Linked DNA regions of Homo sapiens: region 1 is linked to region 2. The links are contacts of gene promoters, found by promoter capture Hi-C in blood cells and fetal thymus (Javierre and others, 2016). All regions are on one chromosome and are shown on one strand. The core of a region is centred on a gene start or on the middle of the fragment in contact, and the rest is flanking DNA. Distances in the headings are between cores, read along the strand shown.

Region 1 (5,573 bases), core at 689-3,188, 990 kb before region 2:
TATTTGAAGCCTTGAGTTAAATGTGGAAAGTAAGGGAGAAAACGGATAATGGTTAGAAATAAAAACGTGCAGTGGATAGGTTTCCAAAGTAATAAAAAGCCACTTTAAATTTCAAAAGATTTTAAACCTGTGTAGTTCCAGACAGAATACCCTAAATTCCCATCAAACATTGTGTCTCTATTCTGAGGGTCAGAACCGCCTTGAGGCAATTCAATGAACTCAACTGACAACAAAGAATTAAATCATTAATTTCTGCTTGTAAAAGAGATAGCCTGTGGACAACACTCAGCAGATGGTAGGTATTCACAAGGAAACTATTATGATTAGAGACAGGGATATGGAGAGAACAAAGACAGTATACTCAGCTGACATTTATTGAGCACCTACTATGTGACAGTTGCTTTCAAATCCATTATTTCAAATAAACCTCAAAATAAGGCTATGAGGAAAAGATCATATTATAGAAGAGGAAACTGACACTCCAAGACGCTTGTTAACTTGCCGAGAAAGTGAGTGGCAAAGTCTGAGTTGGAAGAAGTTGGGTCTGACTTCAAGTTCAGTATCTGATTCGCTGCACCTCTCTGCTTTTTCCCTGTATGCCCAAATGTCAGTCATTTTAGAGCTGGAGGTGAGGATCAGAGGGGACTTTAAGATCGCCTCACCCAGAGTTTCTCTGCCTCTTTTATAATCCAAGTCACCCTAGATAAACACAAAAACCTTACATCCTCTTTTAATGAGTTTCAAATTCAAAATAAGCAAAATATCATGATTCAAAACAAATCAAAGCAAGGGGACATTTTCAGTATTTTGTTTTGAAACAAAACAAGTCTTTCCAGCACTTTTGTTTCCAGCTCCGTGCCTCCACCAACCTCACTGGAGAGCTGGTGATCCTTTGCCCCCCTCCTCCTAGTCATTGACTTCCAAGGAAGTTGAGCTCAGAGCGGACTGACTGACTAGCTTGTGACATGGTCAGCTCTTGAACTCAGGTCTGCCTGACTCCAGTGTGGTATCTTTTCTGTAAACACCCTGCTTACTTCATAGCCTGGTCTCTTACTGAACCCCAGCTCACAGTCCACACTTCGGACTGACTTTATCACCTCTAGTTTCCAGAATGTGTCCTCCTCCTTCCTGGCCGTTGCTCAGGCTTTTCCTCTCCGTGGAACACCCTCACTACCGCTCCTCCCCGCTTGTCTGGGGAGCCCCTGTTCCCCAAGCTTCAGCTGAAATGCAGCTTACTTTAGGAGCTTTTCTGGACTCCTGCCTATATCCAAATGAAGGGGACTGATTCCTTTTGTACACGTGCCCATGTACCCATGTAGAATTATCTTTTGGCATTTGCTAACACTTTAATATTCTTTACACGTCTCTTCCTTTTTTTTCTTCCTTTTTTTTTTTTAATTTGAGACAGAGTTTCACTCTTGTCACCCAGGCTGGAGTGCAGTGGCATGATCTTGGCTCACTGCAACCTCTGCCTCCCCGATTCTAGCGATTCTCCTGCCTCACCCTCCTAAGTAGCTGGGATTACAGGCATGCGCCACCATGCCCAGCTAATTTTGTATTTTTAGTAGAGAAGGGGTTTCACCATGTTGGCCAGGCTGGTCTCGAACTCCCGACCTCAGATGATCCACCTGCTTTGGCCTCCCAAAATGCTGGAATTACAGGTGTGAGCCACTGCGCCCAACCTAAGTCTCTTTTTCTTAATCGCCTATGACCTCCTTGGATATCTCACTCTACTACTACCAAAATGATGGTGGTTGGGGTGGATCCATATCTTTGTATTCTTTCAAGAGTGCCTGGCATTTAGCAAGCACTCAGTAAATGTTTATGACACACACACACACACACACACACACACACACACACACACACAACGTCATTGTCAGATTATTTTATTTTAGGTGGTCTTGAGTTTTTACTTAGACTGCGAACTCTCACAGACAGCTGTCCTCTGTTGAAGCAACAGGGAGCCACTGCAGGTTTTTGAGGCAGAGAGTTTCTTGATCCATAGGTAACATAAGAGACTTACCCATGGGATTAAAGCTAAAGATCTCCCAGTTTCCAAGCCTTTTCAATCTTTCTCTGGAAAAGTTTTATTTCACAAATAAAAGGCTGAAGAAGAGAAGTGCTATTCTTTCATTTTTTGTTAATTCAAAAAATATATCAAGTGCCTGCCCTCTCCCAGGTGCTATTTTGGGCACCATTTAGATAAGAATGAACTGGGCAGACAAAATATCTCCTCTCTTGGAGTTTGCATTCTCCTGGTGGAGAAAGACAATAAATAAGTAAATAATAACTATATCAGTTCAGATAGTAATAAATATTATGAAGAAAGATATAAAAAGACAGAGTAGGGGATGGGCAGATCATTTTACATGGCGAAGTCAAGAAAGGATCTTTGAGGACGTGGCATTTGGCAGAGCTCTGATGCAGTGAGGAGGGGAGCCAGGAGAAGGTCTGAAGCAAGTGTATTCCAAGCAGGTGAAACAGCAAGTGCAAATGCCCTGAGGTGGGAACAAGTTGGGTACGTGAGAGGAACAGCAAGATGGCTGGAGTGACAGCATGGACAGTGGCTGAGGTAGGCCCTAGGTTGTTTCCCAGGGTGGTTGCTAAGGTCAGACCATAATTTGGTAGATGTGACTAGATCAGCCAGTGCAGCTGGTTCTAAGCTTGAGCCAGCTGTGAATGAATGAATGGAACGTAGACTATCAGCCAGAAGATTAGGCTGAGTACCTTGATCAGACTTTTGTTGCTTTTAGTCAGCAACAAAATGAAGGCTTATGGAGCAAAATATAAGAACAATGTGATCTTTTAAATGAGTTTAAATAATCAAAACAGAACAAAGAGTGATTTCTTGAGTGTAAAACAGGTGGTAAGTTGGTGTTTATTCCTTAAAAAGGAATCTGTCACATCCATCCCAAGGTTGTTTTCACTGAAATGTAAAAGTTACTTTCACTGTAATTTGGGGAATGGTATTAAGACGCCACTTGCGGAGGGCAGCTTCAGCTTGATCCTGCCTGAGGACTCTGGAGTGTGGGTTAAACCTCAGGATTATCCTCGCCCAAGGCTGGAGAGCCACAGCACCTAACAGTCCACCCAAGAAGAGCTGCTGGCACTGGCCACCGAAGGCACATTGGAGCCCCCTACCCCCTAAACAATTAAAAGGAATCCCACTGAAATCTGAGTGGAACAGTGACATTGTCTGATTCGGATAGAATAAAGCAGAATCAAAGAGGATGATCTGGAAGTTCTTTTGCCTCATGATGTTCTCATTCATTACACCATAATGATTATAGGACCCAGGACAGTTAGGGATAGCCAGGAGCTCTAGGCCCCTAGGCACATAGTTACCACCTCTTGGCTTTGCTCTTACTCAGCTTTGAGGGTAGATCACCATGCAGCTTACTCGAAAAGGGCAGGGAAGCAATGTGAAGGCAGAATGACATGAATTCAGATTCTGTCTTCATTTTCAGCTCCGTTGGGAAGTTGTGTGACCTTCAGCATGTTACTTAATGTCTCTGGGCCTCAGGTCTCCTGGAACACTCCATAGTTCCCAGGCCCAGACTTTTCCCACCATACTGCCTTGTCTTTCTACAGTGTTTCTGAAACAATGGAAATGAGAGTTTCTGTTTTTCAGGAACTAATTTGGTGGGACAGTGCATAATTGATATTCTTGCTTTGTAATCATTCAAGCCTTTACTTTGCTTGTTTTATTTCTTACAGGGTTTTGATGTGGAGACCTTGAAATTCATTTGCAGAGGAGCAATTTTACACTTTTATTTAGAACTGGAGGGGAACTTTATAAAAGGATAGGGGAAGGGAGAATAAGCCCAACTTTATTTAAGATGCAGTTATGTTGGGGGCAGAGTTGACTATTTGATCATTCTTTGCCTTTTATTGGTAAAACAGACTAGAGTGTCTAAGAGAGTTAGTTGTGTTTTCATATCAAAATTTGATGGTGGATTAGTGGTGGATCTGAGAGCTATTAGAGGAAGGAAGGGCTCTTAGGGACAAGCCCACTCTCAGGTGGTTGGCAACCCTGCCCAAGTTTGGTGCTGAACGAATAAGTGAATAATTTTTTTCCACATCATATGATAAAGAGGAAAAGTTTGTGCTCATCTTAGGTCATGAGTTCTAGTTCCAGTTCCACCACTTGGGTATGTTCATTACCATCTCCAAATTCCATTTCTTTGTCTTTAATGTGAGGAGGGTTAGACTTGTCGAGCCTACTTCTTTAGGTTGTCTTAAGACTCAGATGCTAATCAAATGTACCTGTATATTACATGTGGTAATTCATGGAGTAAATCTGGTAAAGTCATTCCAGACTCTGCATCTAATTCATAGGATCTCAGGAAAATTGTATAATTTTGCTAAAGCCTCTGTTTTTTCATCTGTAGATGGAGATAGCCCCTGCCTTGCCAAATTCATATGGATGCAATCAGATAATGGATAAGAAAGAATCTTGTAAATTGTAAAGCACCAAAAAAGTATTTTTTATGTTATTATTTTTTAATCTTCCTTATCCTATTGGTCACTAGTATATTCCCTAGTCCCTGAGCAGAACTCATGGTGAACACGTTCACTCCCTTTTCATTAGGGGGCTGCTGTGGCCAGAGCATGGGCTTCTGAGTCAGAGAGGCCTCTGCTCAAATCCCTGTTCTACCAGCTACTAGCTGCTGTGTGACCCCGGCTGAGTCACTTAACCTGTTTGAGCACTATCTGAGAACTCAGAAAAATAAGATCCACCTCAGAGGTGTTTGTAGTAAGACTCAAGTAGGAGAGCATGTGTGTGGTATCCAAAACAGCATCTGCTGTGAGTTCAATCAGTGCTAATTACTTCTCTTGACAACTCTCCTCTCCCCTTGTATCTTTAAGGCTGCAGTAGTTGGGGGTTGGTCTGTTTTATTTCTAAAACCACTCGTCACATGCTAAACTGAATCATGCTGAGTTGCATGAGTTCCTTTCTGCATTAAGCTGTGGACTCCTTAAGGAAAGGATGTGTAGCTTGCAGTTCTAACCCCTGGTACTGAGTAGACATGCTGTTCTAGGGGCTCACAGAGGGGAGGCGGTGAACCACAGGAGAATGAACTTAAACTCTGGGCTACCCAGATCTAGGTTTGAGTTTCTTATGGTAGGACCCTAGACAAATCATCTAATGATACTGAGACTCAGTTTCTTCATCTGACAAATAACCCAACAGAGATGCATGCATAGATGCATACGTTTAGGGATTGTTAGGAAGAGCAGAGATAATGCTTGTAAAATGGCTAGCATGGTACCTGGTGCATACTAGGTCTTAGTGAGCAACTGTTGACTGACTAAAGCCTCCGCCCAGTGTTCCATTCTATCGCTAATAGCATCGTCTTTTCCTGAACAGAAGAAACTGGGAAGTATCCACAGGAGCAAAACACCAAGTGGTGTGAGAAAGAGACATTTGCCCTTGCGAGGGAGAATATTTTATCCCTGACATTATTCAGAATTACCTGCACATGTGACAATGAACAAAGAGACTGACTTTTGTTAAATTTCTTCTTTTTTTAAAGTTTGCTACAGATAATGCATGCCTTTATATATAA
Region 2 (5,456 bases), core at 1,270-3,769:
CTCAACTCCCCAAACATGGATGCCAACTTCTAAAGAACTGATGCCAATTTAATAGTTGGAAATGATAACTTATGTTGTATTTGGCATTTCTTCTAAAGTCTTTTTTTCTGATTATAAAGTAATATAAGCTAATTGTAGAAAGCCTAGAAAATATGGAAGATTAGAAAAATAGTCATTTTTCATTTGTATATAAATATAACAACAGTTTTATGATTATTCCTTTGTCTTCTTCCTGTGTATATATTAAAATACATACCTAATATTTATAATATTGAGGTCATATGGCTGATACTTTCATCTAAATTTTATTTAATAGTATACATTGTGACAACTTTCCTGAGTTATCAAATATTCTCCAGAGCACTGAATCTGCTGTAAAATATTTAGCCTTCCTTGCTTATTGGGCATTGTATCAATCGATTATACAATTGATCAATACATAGCATTGCCATACATATCATTGTTCAAAGCCTCCAAATGCACTTCTGATGATTTCAACAGAATTTATGACTGACGCAGAATAAATTGGAATCATGGGTTTAAATGATATGGATATTTTAAAGTTTCTTGATAAAAATTGTTAAATTTTTCCTTCCCTGATAATTTACTCTCTATAAAGTCCAGAAGCATAACTTAATTGCCCCCCCCACCAAGTTACTCTCACGAATTATTTTATTTGAGAAATTTGGTCACTTGTGGCTCTCAGTGATAAATATGTTGAGAAGTTTCCCATATGTATAGATGATAATAGTAACTCATATTTACAAAGTTTATAATTTACATTTACCATGTATGTTTACATTTTAATTACAATGATCTTAGGAATGTGGAGGTTGGGGGCTATAGGAGAGCAGCCAGTGGGGAATAAAGTCAAGATTCAGACCAGGTCTTCAATTCCTAAATCTTGTAGTTTTAATTAAATCACATTACCAATGTACCTAGTTCCAGCATATAAAGTGACTCCAGAGGCGTTAAGAAAGTTCTGGAATAATGTTAAGGGAGTCAATAGCAAACGTACATACTGTATTTTTAGAATGAGACTGATTTACACTTGGGGGCTTTTAATTGCAGTCGTCCATCAGTTTTAAATTTTCAGTGTCTAAATATAAAAACGCAGCAATATAAAAAAAAGCCAGCTGTTTTCTTACTCAGAGCATGAATTGATGAGTTTATGAATGAGTGAAGTGACAGCAAGACTAAGAATAGTCTAGCCCTTTTCAATCACCTAAGCCATCTATCAATACCTTGGAGAGCTTCCAATTTCAGGTCACCTCCCCCGACCCCCCTCCACCCCACAACATTCTCGGAAAAAGCAAATTTTCAACTGACAAAGGAAAATGGATACATTAATATCTTCCATGTTTTTCAAAACATTTCGTTTATTTTGCTACTTGAAAACGGTCTTCCCTTTTGCCCCATGTAAAATAAAATTGCTCATGATCTATGGTCCCGTGAGAGCTTATTTAAGGAGCACTGACGGATTCTATTTTCCTTATTAATGTGGCATATTTGCCACGTGTGCAAATGAAAACATCCCTTTCCAATGAGTGCCTAGGAGGAAATCAGCTCTTCCTTCCTCGAAGAGTTTTAATTCATGGGTATGATCTATTTCTTTCTTTCTTTATTTTGTTTTATATATTTTTTAGAGACAGAGTCTCGGTTTTTTGTCCAGGCTGGGGTGCAGTGGCATGATCTCGGCTCACTGCAACCTGTGCCTCCCGGGTTCAAGCGATTCTTCTGCCTCAGCCTCCTGAGTAGCTGGGATTACAGTCATGTGCCACCACCCCCGGCTAATCTTTGTATTTTTAGTAGAGAATGGGTTTCGCCATCTTGGCCTGGCGGGTCTCGAACTCCTGACCTCAGGTGATCCACCCGCCTCAGCCTCCCAAAGTGCTAGGATTACAGGCGTGAGCCACCTCGCCCAGCCGGTAGGATCTATTTCTGAAGACAATGTGGAAGCAGAGTGTGGGCCCTCCACAGGTGTAGCGAGGCGGCGTGCTACCGCGAAGAAGGAGGGAAGACGCCTGAGCCCAGCCGGTGCCCTGCTGCCCCTCTGCCTCTTCGGCCACTGGGGCTGAGCTTCAGCCTTACCAATCCCCGCCGCGCACGCGCGCTCGCTTCCCGCGCGCAACCTCCCACCCCCGCCCTCACTGCACCTGCCAGGTCATAAACCTCTTCCCACCCACTCTCACTCTCTACCCAAGGCTCAGGCTTGTCTCACGTTGATTGGCCAGAGCCCACGAGGGCACGTCCAATCAGCAATCCCCCCTGCGCAACCTATCCCGGTTCTTCCCGCCCCCGCCCCGCCCCGCCCGCCCCCCCGGGTACCTACCGTCTCTGTGACTGGTGCGCGGCCAGGTCACTCAGGGCGGCGGGGCGAGGTGTGCGGGAGTGGGCAGGACGGGTGGGAGGAGGGGAGGGGTGGGAGAAGGCGGGGCTCAGGTGCCTGGCAGCGCGGCCGGGGCCCAGGAAGGGGAGGGGGCGAACGCTGGAGCGAGGCGGGGGCGGGTGAGGAGGGGGTGACGCCGGACGCGTCGACAGCGCGAGGGTTCGCGCGTGAGCTGCGCGGGTCGGGCCTGGTACCGAGCTTTCCTGGGGGCTAGCAGGTCGTGGACGCCGGCTCCTGGAGGAGAGCCGGTAGGAGGGAGTGTGAAGGTGTCCGCGGCGTCGTCGACGGCGGCGCCGGCCATGGAGGAGACGCAGCCGCCGCCGCAGCCTAAGCTGCCCCTGTGCGACAGCCTCATGATCTGGGTGAGTGCGAGGAGGCGAGAGGGCGAGGGGGCCAGGGGGCCGAGGCGAGGAGCCTGGGGCGCCCGGTTCTCCCAGGTGAGCTGGGGCTACCTGCACAGGGTCCCGGCGCACCCTGCCCTTCTCACCTCGTGCCCTTGACCGAGAGAATGCCACCTGCGGGTCGACGGGCAGGTGTGTGGGCGCGGGTTGGTGTCCGGGGGTGGGGGTAAAGGAAGCTCTGGGAGCGTAACAGTGGAGGCTCTGGTCTCAACCAGAGGATTCGACCTGCCTGGTGCCCTAACAGCTGGGATATGAACCAAGCACCCATCCTCTTTTCTCCCCGCTGCCCCATTTTCTCCCCCTGAACAGCGCCCGAGCCCTCCACTTTCTGGATCGCCGACTCTCTTGCCTTGGTCCGCTTGGGCGTGAAGACCCTTTCCGAAACCTAACCCTGCATCCTCAAACTACCTTGCTCTACCTGGACACAGGTGGCCAGGAGGTGGCTGGCTGTTTTAGTTCCCGGACCAATGCTCCTTCAGGACTCTAGAACATCCGATTTTGTAGAAGCCGCTTCAAAGAGATGTTTGTATTTCCCGTATGGAGAAAAAGATGTGTTGGGAGTCGGGGGTCGTTTTCCCTTTTTCTCGCTGGCCCTCTCCTCCTCTAAATGGACAGCATTTTCTTTAAAGAAAATGAGTTGACATTTTTCTTTAGGATTTATCTGTGTTTAGGATTTTTGTTAATTTGTGTTGGGTCTGGACAGGCATATCTGTCCCCAGATTGTTCAATATTCCAGTCAGCAAAATGACATCCCACCTCTTAGAGTTACTTAGATATCAGTGCTGGCATTCAGGTGTGGTTCTTAACCCATATTGAGTAAAGATGGTGTTTGATGAGCCACAAGGTGCTGTTGATGATGCTCATCCCAAACCAGTTGTTTAGTTGCGTCTAGGGGAGTGTGTGCAGATGGAATGTAAACAGACGGGATCAGGAGGCTGTAATCGGTTGAGATTCCCTAGTGATCTAATGCATCTAATTCCAAAGAATGAGAAATCTAGGTTTATGGAAATGTGTGAAGCCTATTGGAAATAGCCATAATTTAAAGCATTTACACTTTGTAAGTAAATAACTTTTGCTTTTAGTGGAATGCAAATATTTAGGGTTTGTGAGTTAAAAGCAATTAGCTAACTGTTCAGCTGAATTTTCATTTGAAATAGGTATTGGGGTGGAAGTGCTGTATTTAAGACTGTCGTAGAAACAAGGCAACATTACTTTTAATGATTTGTTTTGTTAAAACAGACTAATTAAAGGGTGTATCCGAATCTGCTACATTATTGTAAACCTCAATTGACTGAAGTGTTAAGCTTAGTCTTTATGATGTCATTGATTTACATGTGAGGTGGTGGAGAAGCACAGGATTTTCTTTTGTGTTGTAATATTTTAAAATATTATGTGACTGTATCCACTCTTTTAACCAGAATTTATTGACTTCCAATGTTGAGCTAGGCACTGGGGAGGACTGGAGTGGTAGCCAGAGCTGTGTGTAATTACAGTGGAAGGTAAAATTCCGTAAAAGCTGCAAATATGTTGTAAACCAAATGATAAGGAATCACAGATAACAGAGTAAAATTGGTCGTTTTCTTCAGTCCTCTCTTGGGCTGCTGAGCACTGTGGAGAAAATTGAATGACCGTGCAAACTGTTGCCTCTACTAATGCTGTTACTGTCAAACGCACCTTTTCTCCTAACATTGCCCATACTTAAGAATAACCAGACAGTTTCTCTCACATTCCTCTTAGCAAACCTTTATCAGTATTCTACCTGAGCCCCCAACTCTTATTCCTCTGGGGCAAATGACCACCTCCTTATCCTTGGCTCTGGCTTTAGACTCCATCCCTTCCACCTCTTTTAAAACGTTATTGTATCATTTGTTCCCTTTCTGTATTTACAACTACTTTCTCTCCATTGGCTCCTTTCTCTGTATGTATAAACTTGCTGAAGTATTCCCCTTTTTTAACAGAGAACAAAGAGCCACTATTCCGTGTTAAAGTCATACTGTATTTCCCCTTTCCTTCACAGTAAAATTTGAGTTGTTTTATTCTCACCCTTTATGCTTCACTCTCATTCAGTCTTCAACCCACTACCCTTGAGTTTCTTTCCTCTAAGACTTTCACTTCATTACCAGTTTGCTAAATCCACTAAGTGTTATATTACCATTTTCTTACTTGATGGTTCCTTTGTGAAATTATCTTGTCTTGGTTTCTGGTTATCTTGTCTGTTGCCTTTTCTTTACCTCTTTAGATGATTTCCAGTGAAGTTTACTGTCTTTTTTTTTTAATTAACTAATTATTTTTGCCTTTGCCAGCAACCGCACTGTTGATCTTACCTCACCTACCCAACTTTCTCCAAACTCACCTCAAGCAACAGTTCTTCAAGCCTATCATGCTGCATTGACTTTCTATTTGTTGAAGAAGCTAAGCTGTTTTAATGCATCAGGGATTTTTTTCCCTCTACCTAGAATATTCTCTTTCTAGTTCTTCCAGTGGTTGGCTGCTTCCGTCATTCAGGTCTTGGGTCAGATGTTGCTTTTCAGGGACTCTTTGTTACAACCATTTCTAAAGTTTGTCTCCCACCCTTATCCCACTGTAACCTGTTAACCTCTTTCTGTCTTATCTATAACACAGTACTTTCTAAAGTAATCCAGTTGGCTTTTGGGATCAGAGCTCTT

What was found. The method cuts DNA at HindIII sites, captures the fragments that hold promoters and counts their contacts. A CHiCAGO score of 5 or more calls a contact.
Region 1: a fragment that was not itself captured here is called in contact with the fragment with the promoter of HOOK1 in region 2 in 1 of 17 cell types (naive CD4 T cells); the score reaches 5.6 in naive CD4 T cells.

What each region holds. Positions count from the first base shown.
Region 1 is chr1:58,818,935-58,824,507 of GRCh38, forward strand. All of the region lies in intron 1 of JUN-DT (JUN divergent transcript), which reads left to right. Among named protein-coding and RNA genes, the nearest start is that of JUN-DT, 37 kb to the left of the region's middle. The HindIII fragment of the contact is 1,452 bases long and covers 1,213-2,664 here.
Region 2 is chr1:59,812,430-59,817,885 of GRCh38, forward strand. It overlaps HOOK1 (hook microtubule tethering protein 1), which reads left to right and starts at 2,520. Exons shown (of 22, transcript NM_015888.6): 1 at 2,520-2,751. The coding sequence starts at 2,689. LOC105378758 (a long non-coding RNA gene) reads right to left here and starts at 2,437. Exons shown (of 5, transcript XR_947426.3): 1 at 2,333-2,437. RefSeq lists a silencer at 1,988-2,587 and an enhancer at 2,824-3,387. The HindIII fragment of the contact is 6,303 bases long and covers 1-4,092 here.